Linked DNA regions of Homo sapiens: region 2 is linked to region 1. Evidence: promoter capture Hi-C in 16 types of primary human blood cells and fetal thymus (Javierre and others, 2016). All regions are on one chromosome and are shown on one strand. The core of a region is centred on a gene start or on the middle of the fragment in contact, and the rest is flanking DNA. Distances in the headings are between cores, read along the strand shown. Region 1 holds the start of SASS6 (SAS-6 centriolar assembly protein). Region 2 overlaps EXTL2 (exostosin like glycosyltransferase 2).

The links. Contacts are between HindIII fragments. The CHiCAGO score rates a contact against its expected background, and 5 or more counts as called.
Region 2: a fragment that was not itself captured here is called in contact with the fragment with the promoter of SASS6 in region 1 in 4 of 17 cell types (megakaryocytes, M1 macrophages, monocytes and 1 more); the score reaches 13.7 in megakaryocytes.

What each region holds. Positions count from the first base shown.
Region 1 is chr1:100,128,576-100,135,220 of GRCh38, forward strand. SASS6 (SAS-6 centriolar assembly protein) reads right to left here and starts at 4,355. Exons shown (of 17, transcript NM_194292.3): 1 at 4,175-4,355. The coding sequence starts at 4,239. It overlaps TRMT13 (tRNA methyltransferase 13), which reads left to right and starts at 4,588. Exons shown (of 11, transcript NM_019083.3): 1 at 4,588-4,740. The coding sequence starts at 4,594. RefSeq lists enhancers at 2,313-2,362, 4,136-4,738, 4,143-4,262, 4,273-4,802 and silencers at 3,977-4,140, 6,278-6,572. The HindIII fragment of the contact is 1,832 bases long and covers 2,703-4,534 here.
Region 2 is chr1:100,873,771-100,880,415 of GRCh38, forward strand. It overlaps EXTL2 (exostosin like glycosyltransferase 2), which reads right to left. Exons shown (of 5, transcript NM_001033025.3): 3 at 3,706-4,133; 4 at 3,024-3,094; 5 at 1-660. The coding sequence ends at 172. Among named protein-coding and RNA genes, the nearest start is that of EXTL2, 18 kb to the right of the region's middle. The HindIII fragment of the contact is 1,449 bases long and covers 2,118-3,566 here.

The DNA.
Region 1 (6,645 bases), core at 3,105-5,604:
TCCCTAGAAATATGCTGTAGAAAAATACAAGCTTTCAGAGGATACGCTAACTAAAATCACAAATCTTATTTTTTCCCTTATAATGGTTAATGTCATAAGAGCAATATAAAACAATAAAAACTCAATAAAATGTTATTTCTCATCTCAATAGATGTCGTACTCAATAGATGTCTAATACTAATGACATTAGATTTAGTTATGAGTTCTTCTAAATAAAAAGTATTCTAAACATCAGGCTTGCTTTAGCACAACTGGATTCTAGGCCATCTCTGACACCCAGTAGCTGTGCTCTTAAACTATCAATCAAACAAATAAAAGGTACTTTAAGCCAGGTATTGTGCCAGGTGCTAGGGATACAAACAGAAATAAACATGGTCCAGGGGCTTGGCACAGTGGCTCACATCTGTAATCCCAGCACTTTGGGAGGCTGAGGTGGGTGGATCACCTGAGGCCAAGAGTTCAAGACCAGCATGGGCAACATAGCAAAATCCTATCTCTACAAAAAATTTATAAAATGAGCCAGGCATGGTGGTGCATGCCTGTAGTTTCATGTACTCTGGAAGCTGAAGCAGGAGAGCTTAAGACCAAGAGTTTGAGATTACAGTAAGCCATGATTATGACACAACACTCTAGCCTGGGCAACAGAGTGACAGCCTCTCTCTAAAAAAAAAAAAATAATAATTTTTGAACATAGGATGACACAAACAAAACAAAACAAAAAAAACCATGGTCTCTGTCCTCAAATTGAGATGAGATTAATGACTTTTTGCTAGATTTGCTTCTGATTGCATTTTAGGGCTCCATGAGAGGGGAGGGAAGGGTTACCAACACTACTGAGTACCTGCCAGGTATTCTACATATATCATCTTATTTAACAATAATCTTGATAAGTAAATATTATTTATTTTACAAAAGAAGAACTTAAGGCCCAAATAATGGTTTAAGGTCACATTACAGAGCCCAAATGAAAACTCAGATCTTTCACCTACACCACACTATCTAATAACTGAATAATGGCAATTCATTTCAACTTAGGCAACTTTGAAGGGTCCTTATAGTGAAAGGATTTAAGACATACCTGAAAGTTATGAAAGAAAAAAGCATTTGAGGCACAAGGAACAGCAGGGGTAATAGTATAGAATGAGTATCAGGTATATTCAGAAGGTAACAAGAATGCTTGTATGACTTTCATATTGGAGAGATAAGCTTAGGAAACAAAACTGAAAAGGCAGATTAGTGTCAAATCATGGGTTCCAAAATTTTGCATAATTTTCCACCAGATGAAGTTCCCTGATCATTACCACTGTCCTCAACTGAATTTCCTTCTTCTCTGACTTTAGTGTACTTATATTACTTTATGCATTTGTCACACATTAATACCTAAAATTTAGTGAACATTTATTATGCTCTAGTCACTGTTGTAAGCAGTTCATATGTATAATTCATTCCATTCTCATAATACCATGAAGTAGGTACTGTTATTACCATCAACTTAAAGATGAGACACAGAGAAGGAAATTGTACAAGATCTGTCAGTAAGTGGAAGAACTGGGACTTAAACCCAGGCAATCTGGCTCCAGAGCCTGAACTCCTAATCTGTGCTATGGTGCCTGTTCAAGGAAAATCTTATTTCCCCTATTAAAATGTGAGTTCCTTGAGGGACAGAATGAAAAGAGGTTTTTGTTGGCTTTTGTTGTTGTTGGGGACGGAGAGGGGGGTGCGTATTTACATCCTCCACACTTAGGACAGTTCCTGAGACACAGCAGACATTTGCCAGTATTTGTTGAGCTGAACTGGCCTCAAATACTCAACCAAGGCGTCTGGGCTGGGCGTGGTGGCTCACGCCTATAATCCCCGAATTTTGGGAGGCTGGGGTGAGAGGATCACTTGAGCCCAGGTGTTCAAGACCAGCCTGGGCAATACAGGGAGACCCCGTCTCTTTTAAATTAAATTAACAACAAAAAAAAGCCAGGCGTGGTGGTATGCGCCTGTAATTGCAGCTACTCAGGAGGCTAAGGTGAGGGGAACCCTTGGGCCCAGGAGGTCAAGGCTGCAGTGAGCTGTAATCGTGCTACAATACTCCAGTCTGGGCAACAGAGCGAGACTCTGTCTAGAAAAAAAAAAAAAAAGAGAGAGAGAAAGAGAGAGAGTCTGGGTTGTTCTTCCTATAGGTCAAGGATCACCAAATTATTCTGTAAAGGGCCAGATAGCAAATATTTTAGGCTTTGCGGGCCATAAGGTCTCTGTCACAATTACTCATCTCTGCCCTTCCTGTGCAAAAGCAGCTACAATATGTAAACAAATGAGCATGGCTGTATTCCAAGAAAAGTTTATTTACGAAAACAGTGAGCCAACTGGCCCATGTGCTCCAGTTTGCTGACCCCTATTATACAGATAATAGGAATATATTAAAGGTTTCTAAGCAGAGAAATTGAGTTTTTAGATTAACTGTGATGGCAATGTAACCAGAAAGAGACCATCTAGGAGTTTCCATATTGAAACCAAAGTCATGGCCTCCTTTATCTTTCTATAATCATTCTAAAACAGTGTTGTCCAATGGAGATACAATGTAAGCCACAAATGTGAGCCAGGTATGTAATTTTAATTTTTTTCTTTTTCTTTTTTTTTTTTCAGAGACAGGATCTCGCTCTATCACCCAGGCTGGAGTACAGTGGCACAAATAGTAGCTCACTGTAACCTCAAGCTTAGGCTCAAGCAATCCTCCTGTCTTGGCCTCCTAAAGTGCTGGGACTACGGGTGTGAGCCACCATACCTAGCCTACTTTTAAATTTTCTAGAAGTCACATTTTAAAAAGACTTTTAAAAGCAGGTGAAATTAATTTTAATAATACATTGTATTTAACCCAATATACCCAAAAATATTGCCATTTAACACATAATATAAAAATTGACATATTTTACATTCTTTTTTCATAGTAAGTCTTAAAAATCCAACGTGCATTTTCATATGTAAAGCACAACAATTCAGATAAGCCCCATTTCAAATGTCTAATAACCACATGTGGCTAGTGGCTACCATACTGGACAGCATTAAAAGAATGATCAACTAAACCTACAGATCTCCATATGCAGCTGCTGGTTTTGGGACCATCTCCTTGACCGGCTTGCCATTGATTTTTGACCGAATTCTGAACTATATATACTACAGTTTGACATTACTGGCAACTCAATAAGGCAATGTCTTCATTTTTTATGTTACATTTGTACACCACTTAGTTTTCACATACGATTTCACACCTGATCCTCATTACAAACACGTGAATACGCAAAAGATTTCACACCTGATCCTCATTACAAACACGTGAATACGCATGTTATATCAGTTTTACAAATGAGGAAAGAACGTTCAGAGAAAAAAAGAGACAACCATTGAGTGTTAGAACTGAGAAAAAAAAAGTAAGTCTCCTGACCTCTGGTCAAATCTATTTACGCCCCAATAATACCACCTCCTTAATCAAAGTTGCACTTCTCTGTGCGACTGGTCTTTATTTCCTCCAGTGATTGTAAACTCCATGAAGAAAAGGACTGTTTTTCCTGACCACTGTATTCCCAGTGCCCAGTAAGGTGTTTTACAAGGAGGCAATATTTATTGAATGAATTAATGACGTTTCTGCTTTTCTCATTTTTAGTCGGTTAAATGTAATTTACTTTTTTAAAGCAACTGATGTGAAGAGCCAAAGTACGCCACCAAATTGGTAGGTTTTTAAAAGTTGAACTTTACTGCCAACATACTTCAAAAGAGAACGAGGGGGAAAGGCTCGGAGCCAAGGCCTGAGTTCTAGTCCTGACCCTGCCATGAACTGGCTGTGAGCCCTCACGTAAATTTTTTTAACTTCTCTGGGCCAGAGTTCTTATCTGTCAAAAGGGAAGAGTAGGGCTATAATCTTCACGATTCCGTGCACAGGTAGGGTTTTTGACATTAACTTGATGTGAGCCGGCTTCCTAACTCCTCACACCCTTCCTCCAGTCCCCTCTGCAACGGCCGACTTGGTGAGAGAGGTAACCACCGGGCCCTCTGGGTTCCCTATCCGCTTCCTAGGGGGGCCGACTCGACACCTAGGTGCAAGGTGGATCCCACGGGCCAGAACCGCCATCTTTCCCCATTGGCCTGACCCCAACCGCCACCCGCGGGCACTGGATGACGCGGACCTTACCTCTCCTCACAGTCTTTGCATTTCACCTGCAACGGGACTAGTTGGTGGAACAGCACTTGGCTCATGTTGGCTCGCTGCCTCGGCTGGTGTGCAGAAAAGCCCAACAGGCCCGGCCCTCGGGATTAGCCTGAGAGGTCCGGGTCCTGATAAAGTTTGAGTTTGGCGCTCGGCTTCTGCGGAGGAGGCGGGGAGGGAGAAACGAGGGGAAGGCGTAAGAGACTTGGCCCTCGCCAGCCACCATCGGATTCTTCCGGTTCTGCGGAGGATAAAGGGAAGACGGTTGTGGTAGTTCCGGGTATTAACCTGTGTGGCGCGGGGGCTGAGGCAGCCATGTTTGTTAAGGGAAGGAGACCCGAAGGAAGCTTCTAACTTTTCTTCTGGTTGCCGGATGCTGGACACCGGAAGCGAGCCCTAGAATTATGGCGACCTCCGCGACGTCGCCGCACGCGCCTGGTTTTCCAGCTGAGGGTAGATGCGGTTACTATGTGGAAAAGAAGAAACGGTTCTGCAGGATGGTGGTGGCCGCAGGGAAAAGATTTTGTGGTGAACACGCTGGAGCCGCGGAGGTGTGGTATCGCCCTACTCTCTCAAGAGTCGGAAATAAGTATCCTGGTCCTGTCGGTGCTGGAACCCGGCCCCTCCCCTCTTTGACAGCTTTCTGCTTGTGTCCCCTGGATTCTCCAGCTTTCACTTTAATAAACCCAGTTTTGCCCTCCTTGCGGAGCGATTATGAGTTCTAGTGATGAGAAATTTTTTATTTTTCTAAGTAAAGCGCCAGCAGTGACCCATTTATTTTGATCTATTTATCTCGATCTTAACTCATGGTAATGCTAGGTTTTAATTTTTACCCCAAGCTACCGCTCCGTCTTCCTGCTGGAAAGTGGTAGTTTAGAAAAAGTAGTGATTGAAGTCCCAAAGGTTTCACTAGTTGTGTTCTAATTGTTATTTCATGAAAGAGAAGCACTTCTCGTGAATGCGGTTGGAAGAAACTTTCTTTTAAAAATTTAGACTTGAGGCCCGGCGCGGTGGCTCACGCCTGTAATCCCAGCACTTTGGGAGGCCGAGGCGGGCGGATCACTTGAGGTCAGGAGCTCGAGACCAGCCTGGCCAACATGATGAAACCCTCTCTCTACTAAAAATAAGAAAATCAGCCGTGGCGCGAGCTACTAAAATTAAGAAAATCGTGGTGGTGCGAGCCTGTAACCCCAGCTACTCGGGAGGCTGAGGCAGGAGAATCGCTTGAACCCAGGAGGTGGAGGTGGCAATAATCCAAGATCACACCACTGCATTCCAGCCTGGGTGACAGCCAGACTGAATCTCAAAAAAGAAAAAAAAATTTTTTTCGACTTACAGTTTTTAAGAATGCAACTTTGCTGGAATGGGAAGGAAAGATTTTTAAATATATACGAATTGACCTTTTACAATTGAGAACAAAGCATACAATTTTGTTTGATAATTATGCATATAAATGTACTATCAAACACTTTATATTTGTATATATGTATATTACTTTAGGATATATATGAGATGGGAAAATAAAAACCAGAGGAGCAAAATGCTCATAGGAAGAGAGCATGTCCTTATAGTTCCACAGAACTATAAAGAATAAACCAAAGCGATCAGCATCAGATTTCATGCTTCTGAATGTTCAGTATTATTTGCATTATTTTATTTCTTAAGGAATTTATTCTTCTAGACAATATCCAGTGCAGATCAGTCCCCTGACCCCCTTCATCTGCCACTCTCCATCATAGTTGTAGTCTACTTCCTATTTTGTTTTGACTGGCATTTACCAAAAGTGAAGCATACTGAAACAAGGACATTCTTGTTTTGGAATATGGGAGACGTGATTTGTTGTGGGAACTCTGAATTATGCCCATAGTCTATTGACTGGTTTTGAGGGGACTGGCAAACATCCCTTGTTGAAGAATGAGAGTTATGATAGGAGAAGGATTTAGACTCCACCTTATCCAGATATATGGAAGGTGAAAACAAATAGTGATGATAGTAGAATATGAATAAATCCTTACAAGCTGATTAGTATTCCTATAGAGGAACGACATATTGTCATTAGACACTTGAAGAGAGACCGCAAAACATCAAGTGGAAACACTTTTATTGACTACTATCTCGTTTTAAATTGTGGCTATCCTCCTGAATCTGTAATTTATGATGTAACTGGATGTTGTGTTTCCATCTTTTTTTCTAAGTGTCATATATAGCTGTGATGACACCACTCATTTTTACCCAGTGGTTCTCGACTGGGACTGATTTTGCCTCCAGTGAACACTTGGCAAAATGAAGACATTTTGGTTGTCAAACTGAGGAGTATCACTGACATCTAATGGATAGAGACCAGAAATGCTGCTAAACCTCCTACAAATCACAGGACAGCCCCCTGCACTCACCCCCTCAAAAGAATTACCTGCCCAAAACGTCAATAGTGCCAAGATTGAGAATTCCTGTTTCTA
Region 2 (6,645 bases), core at 1,592-4,091, 740 kb after region 1:
GGCTTTCAAAAGTAATGTGAATTTTATATCCTAGAAGCACTGCACTTTTTTTTCTATTGTAGAGACTTCTGGAGTAGATAAAATTCATGATGTTGCTTAAAAAAATACATAGCATGGAGAAGCTACTCAAATGCCAAGCAGTTTTCAGGTTTGTTTTTGTTTGTTTTACTTTTATATTTTTCTTTTGTAGTTGGCATATGGAAAACCAAACTGGGAAATCATAATGTTGGAGTATCTTAAGGGCATGCTATCATAGATATTAACAAGCTTATTTATACAATAAGACCTCTGCAGAGCGTGCTCAGCTCGATGCCACATTCCAGAATAGCCACTGTTGGTTTCTTTTTCCAAATTGTCCATGTTTACAGGCTTCACAAATATCCCTGAAGTCTTGCCAATATGCTTGGCAATGATAAAATTCATGGCAATATCATCACAGTTTTGAGTATCATCTATCAAAGCATGGACAGCTGCAGGTTGCCTCTGAAATAATTCAAGATATTTGCTATTGAAGAATGAGGCTCCAATCAGCACCATAGAGTACTGGTCACCATTTCCAGACCCTGGTGCTTGCATTTCAAAACTTCCATAACTGTAGATACCTGATGAAGTAGAGACGTGCTTTCTAGGAACAAATCCTACAATTTGATCAGGAAATTGCTGAAAAGAGGGAAAAAGAACAATAAAATGTCACATATTTTTAGAGAAGACATAGTGAAAAAGGCAATGATTTATTACAGAGAGAATGAAACTGATTTGTCAACTCTTCCTTATTCCTGGTTTCTACATTTCAGTTTTATCTAGCTCCAGGTAACTTCATAAATCTGTGTTCTGATATGTTTACAGGTCAAATGGCATCACAACCCAAACATCTCTGAAAACAAATATTCTACCCTTACAAATGTTCTCCTAATTCAAACATTATCTGACATTAACAAATTCCAGTCACCAAAGAGTCCAATCCTTCAAAATGTGCTGCGAGAAAAGTTGACTGCCTGAATGCTATTTGTTGTAGGAAATAAGAGATAATGGGATCGTTTTGAAAATTTGTTCTAATCTCTTAGGAGTATATAAAATTATGGACCTACATGTGTGATTGTCTCTTTTTCATGTTGATTTCGATGTTCATAAAAATTACTGTTGATTTTAAACAATGTTATATTTATCCCATTTCAGCTTGGGTGTTTCTTTTTTTAAAAAATGAGATAATATAAATAAATGTTTATACTTATCTATATAACATAAATGTTTATATTATGTATATGTGAGAGAGATGCATCAGAATCTTTGATGAAAGGATAGATGGTAGATGAGCATGACTAAAAATAAAACAACAATCAGCAAACAAAAGAAAAACACTGAAGCATGGGAAAGAGGTAAGAATTTATAGGGTTGAAAGTTTCATTCACTCATAAATAATTTGAGTTTCATTCATTTATTGAACAGATGCAGAACTAGGGACACACACACACACACACACACACACACACGAGGCTGAGTTAAATGCTATTTCAAAGCACTTATAGTCTAGAGAGGGTAGAGGGGTATAATATGGATATGCAAACAAGGAAATACAATACTGTGAGAAAGTTGTTTTAAGTGCAGCTGGGTAAATTCAATGGGCACATTGAGGGTAGAATGACAACTGTGTTGCTGGGAGGCAAAGGGGAAGGTCAGGGGATGGGGGATAAAGGCTGGGAGGTTTCAGAGAAGATGCGCTATTTATACAATCTAGGAGAATGAAAGAAATTTCACAATTGGCTAGAGAGGGAAAAGGGAAAACACTAAAAGTGGAGGTAATGGGCAAATACAAAGACACAGATGAATGTCTACTCGAATCTTGCTTGCTTATACACAAACCTCAGATCATTATGCTATGCAGGGTTTGGGTTGGACTGAATTTAAGTTGGTCAATGGACTGAAATTGTTTTTGATATTTTTAAAAATAAAACCTGAAATCATATTTATATATCTTTAATTTATAGTTTACTCAGATGGTTCCAATTAACCACAGTCCCCATATTCTGCCTCCATTTTTACATTTTGGGCAAATGGATTTTTAAGCATCAATAGAAATCTCACAGTTGAATTATCACATTAGAACTTTTTGTCCAAGAAGCTTTCATGTATTTCATTTCATTCCAAGGACTGGAAAAAAAAATTGTTGATATGGAAAAATTTCGTTGGTCAGCACACTAGGCATGAAATTAAAAACTGAAGTTTTAAAAATGCTGATATCTGCTGAGTATTGTGATCACTTACCATTAATATCGAATGCTGTTATATCCCAAGAAGCTAATTTTAAAAGTTACCATGGCATAAATTCGATCATTTACTGGGTAGCACAGTGTTTAATTATTTGACACGGCTTCGAAGTACTTCCATGCAGTTCCGGTTTCAGGTAATGGCAGTGCAACTTGTAAAAGTTAGCTATTACTAACACATATTCAATAGGAGAGAGCGGCTTTTATAGGATACTGACCAATTTATGCCTGCTTATTCAAGCTATGATTTAGGAAAAAACAAAACAAAATAAAACAAAACCCTCCTACCACAATGGTACATGTAAAATTATTACTGCAAAATTTCTAAACAATGCTCTCAGAACCAGGATTAAATTTTGTGGAGGTAATAAATACTTCCTTTTACAAAAAGTTATACACATTATTAACATAGAAATAGGCTTATCATTTGAGACACATGTCTGTGGTCTAGGCAAAACATCTCCTCATTCTAGTTTTTGCTGGACCACATCATTTCCCCATTGTTCTCTGGAAGGCAGTTCTAGCTCTTTTCCCCAATACACCAAAATATAAATTAAATCTAGATAAAAGATACTATAACTTTCAGGATGGCTGAACTAAGCTCAGAAAATCTTGATTAGCCTATAACAAATTCATCCATCTTTTAGATAAATATTATCTAAAATATTTTAGGTAACTTCTATATTAACCATGTTGCCGTGGTTAAGTACTAGTCAAGATCTTATAAAGACGGTTTCATAAAAGAGACAGCAACATTACCTGCCAAACTGAGAAAGCAAAAACAAGGTCTGGGGTGCTGATGAGTGTGTCATCATCTACCATCAACACTGCTAAAATGAAAGGACAAAAATTTAAGTTGAATAGTTCGGAAATGAAAACAAAAGTAGTAAAATACAATAGTGTCTATATAGATCATTCAAATGAAGTATTTTCTGACCCAACAATAAATAAGCAATGTATTCTTGGGGAGATTTGTCCAGTAGAAAATAATTTTTTTGGTATCATAACTGATTGTATAACTGCCTGAAGGGAAAATAATCAAGCAGTTATTATCCATCATCCTAGAAACTATTGGGCCTATAAATGAATAAAGCCAAGATTCTTTTAAGCAAATTGCAACCTCATGAAACTGTCAGGAATGGGAGGAAAAGAGGAGTGGCAAAAAAATATATTAAGCATAAGCTAAATGGCATCTTACTATCAACTGTAATGCAATCATATGTAATTATAGCATATCCTTTATTACAATATTAACCTCTTCGCCAGGAAACCACTTCTTGACATCTTGGAAATTGTCCCTCAAGCTTTCCAAAGTGCTTTCTTAGGACTAACTTCCTTCATTTTTCTCCAGACGGTTAAGCAGAAGGCCAGAAATTCACATGTCTGTCCCAGCTCTGGACAGCGGCAGCCTTTCCAGGCTGAGAACTACACTGCAACTCACCATTGGTTTCCAGTTCAGGAAAGACCTGGAGTCGATTTCTCATCCTGTTTGCTGTCTGTTGTTTGAAGATCACAGGGATAGGGTGGGGCCCTAGAGAATTCCATAATTCATCTGGTGCCTTCTCTCCAATATTGTTCCATACCACAATCACTTTGTGCAGATTTGGTACAGCCTGATAATGATTTAAAAGTTTCAATAAGAGATCTGTTCTGTTGTACGTCTGCATTATGAGAGTAAAGGAGTCCATGGTGGACTTGCCCTGGGATTTTATTTCCCTACGCAACATGAGCATCTTGTCTTCTTTAACACTGGGAAGTAAGGCAGTCAAAGCACCAGCTACCAGTAATAATACGAGGATGACCACCAAAGATAATCGAAGCACTCGAATCCCCATTACTCTCCCAGGAAGTTTGCAGATGTGGCAACACCTGGAGTAGAAATGGAAACAACATACAAATGTTAGCATTCTTACGAGTCCCTGTGTTTTCATGTTTTTTTCCAATGAGGAAAGATATCAATCTTATTTTAGTTGATTCAAATTCAGTTCTCCCTTCCTCCTCAATAAGGTAATTTGGCCTAAGAGATTTTAAAAAACCAGTTTAATATTCCCTTCCTTCTTGCCCTGCTTGTTACGCAGTTGCAGACAAAAGATGTTATACACACAAAATTGGAAAAATTAAGCATTTAAAAATTTGCCATCATTTTATCACTATATCTCCAGAACTGAGATTATTTTTCAACTGGGATTTTATTTCCCTTAGTAATATATTAATTTCGAATCTACACTTCTGTAGTAGCAGACTTTTTCCCAAACAAAATCATACAGAGCCATAATACATGAGGCAGCAAACAATTATGGTAGGTGTATTACTTACCAGCCCTGTACTATGTGCTTCATATACCACAGTATGTACTTACTCATTCAACAGATAGTTCCTGAGCACTTACTTTGTGCCACCACTGTTCCAGGTTCTGTGGATACAGCAATTAATGAGATACAAAAGGTGTCTGCTGTTAGTAGCAGAGGAGATGATAGGGAGAAACAGATAACACAATAAACAAATTCAAAAGATAATCTGGGGTAGCGGGTATGAAGAGAATCTGTTTATAAAAAGAATAAATCAGAATAAGCAAGGGCCAGATTATGTGGGACCTCTGACCCTCATTAGAGTCTGGATTTTACTATACGCCAGATGAGAAGCCATTGGAGAGTTCTTGGATCTAATTTATTATTTATTATTATTATTCCCATTTAATAGTTTAGATGCTTACAGAGATTACATGCCCTTCCCAAGATTACCAAGTAATTTCAGTAATAGTGCTAGGATTTCCAACAGGAAAATCTGCCCCGAGAGCCTAGGTTGTTCATGGGCTTGGGGGTGTATTGCCTGGCTTTACATCCAGGTTGAACTGAGGCACAGCCCTACAGCTTCCACAACTCGATCTCTCACAGTACAAATCACAAGGTATTATTATCAGCTATGTACTCTCCCATCTTCCTTATTGTACCTAAAGGGTCTTCCAGAGATAGCCATAGAACAGTAGTGAACAAATTGATAAGTACAGTCTAGCTATCCACTGTCAAAAAATTTTGTGTAATCAAATCCCTTGCTTATATGAGAAAAGGTTAAATCTCAGACAGTTTTATAGATGCCTAAAACTCTTATTCCCTGGATTCCAATAACATTTCATTTCCATGCTTGCTGACTCCTGCTGTAGTACTGTTGGCATTCAATTATTTCTGTTTTTCAATCTTCTGCTATTTCTGCTTCTGATTCCAGGCTACTTACTCTTCCACAGGCCACCAGAAGCATTTTAGGTATGGTCCTTGTTTTGTACTTTGGCAACTGAGTCTTCATAGCCATTTCAGCACATCATGGATCTATTTTACTACTCTATTCAAGTGCAAAGCCAGAAGTGAGGAAAATGAACTATTCAAAGAAATTTACTTATGAAAAGAAAGACTGGAAACAAAAACCAATCAGGAGTTTCTAAACAACATATTTAAAACACCTTTAGGAAAAAAATAGATCTCTGAGAAAGAATAGATGAGATGTTATTCTTGGTGACCTTAATTAACCCATAGTCTATCCCTTCTCATCCCCACTTCTGGTACAATTTCTCTTCTTGGCTATGATAAACAGTTACTCTCATCTATTGCTTAATACTGACAGATGTAATACAGCTGGATAAGACTTTTCACTGCTAACCACAGCTGAAGTATACTAACTGCAAAGAGCTACTGTCACTCTTCTTCTTGGTATAACACTGCCTCTGTACATTTTATTTTTGGTACTCCCCCTCTTCTTGGAAAAGTGAACTGTATGTATACTTACATAGTAATATTTAAGCTCTTGATTTCATGTCTTGTGGCTAAAGTCAGGCAATTGAAGCTAGGCCATCATTCCATAGGCAATCCTAAGACTGTAGTCTAAATTTAGTTTGGAATAGAATAGAATAGTTTTGGAATATTCTGTTCCAAACTAAATCTCATTTTACTTTCCTAATGATATCTACTCAACATTTTGTTTTTCACTGAGGAGACTTGGCAGTGGTTGGGTTAGTAACCATCATATTCCTGTAAGCTTGTTTCATGTTGTGGTGTGTGTTTTGTAATGGTAGAAAGTTTCCTCTCTATAGTTCAAGGACATAGAGAGATCATATATACCCCGTCTTTAACATTTTCCTTTGAAGTTTAAGTTTAGAGAATTGCAAAGAAGGACAAGAGCATACTCTCCATGATAGGACAGTATGCTCAGGCATGTGCAAGCAAAGGAAGAGTTTGTTCACAAAGACAAGGAGAAGATCATTGTCATTCAGCAGCTCTCACTTTTCAACAGTCCAGATTTGAAAAGTAATGTCACCTTTAGAGTAAGCTTTTGAGAGTGATTTCAAGGGTATCTCTCCTGGACTTTCTCTGCAGCTTGTTCTATTAAAAAG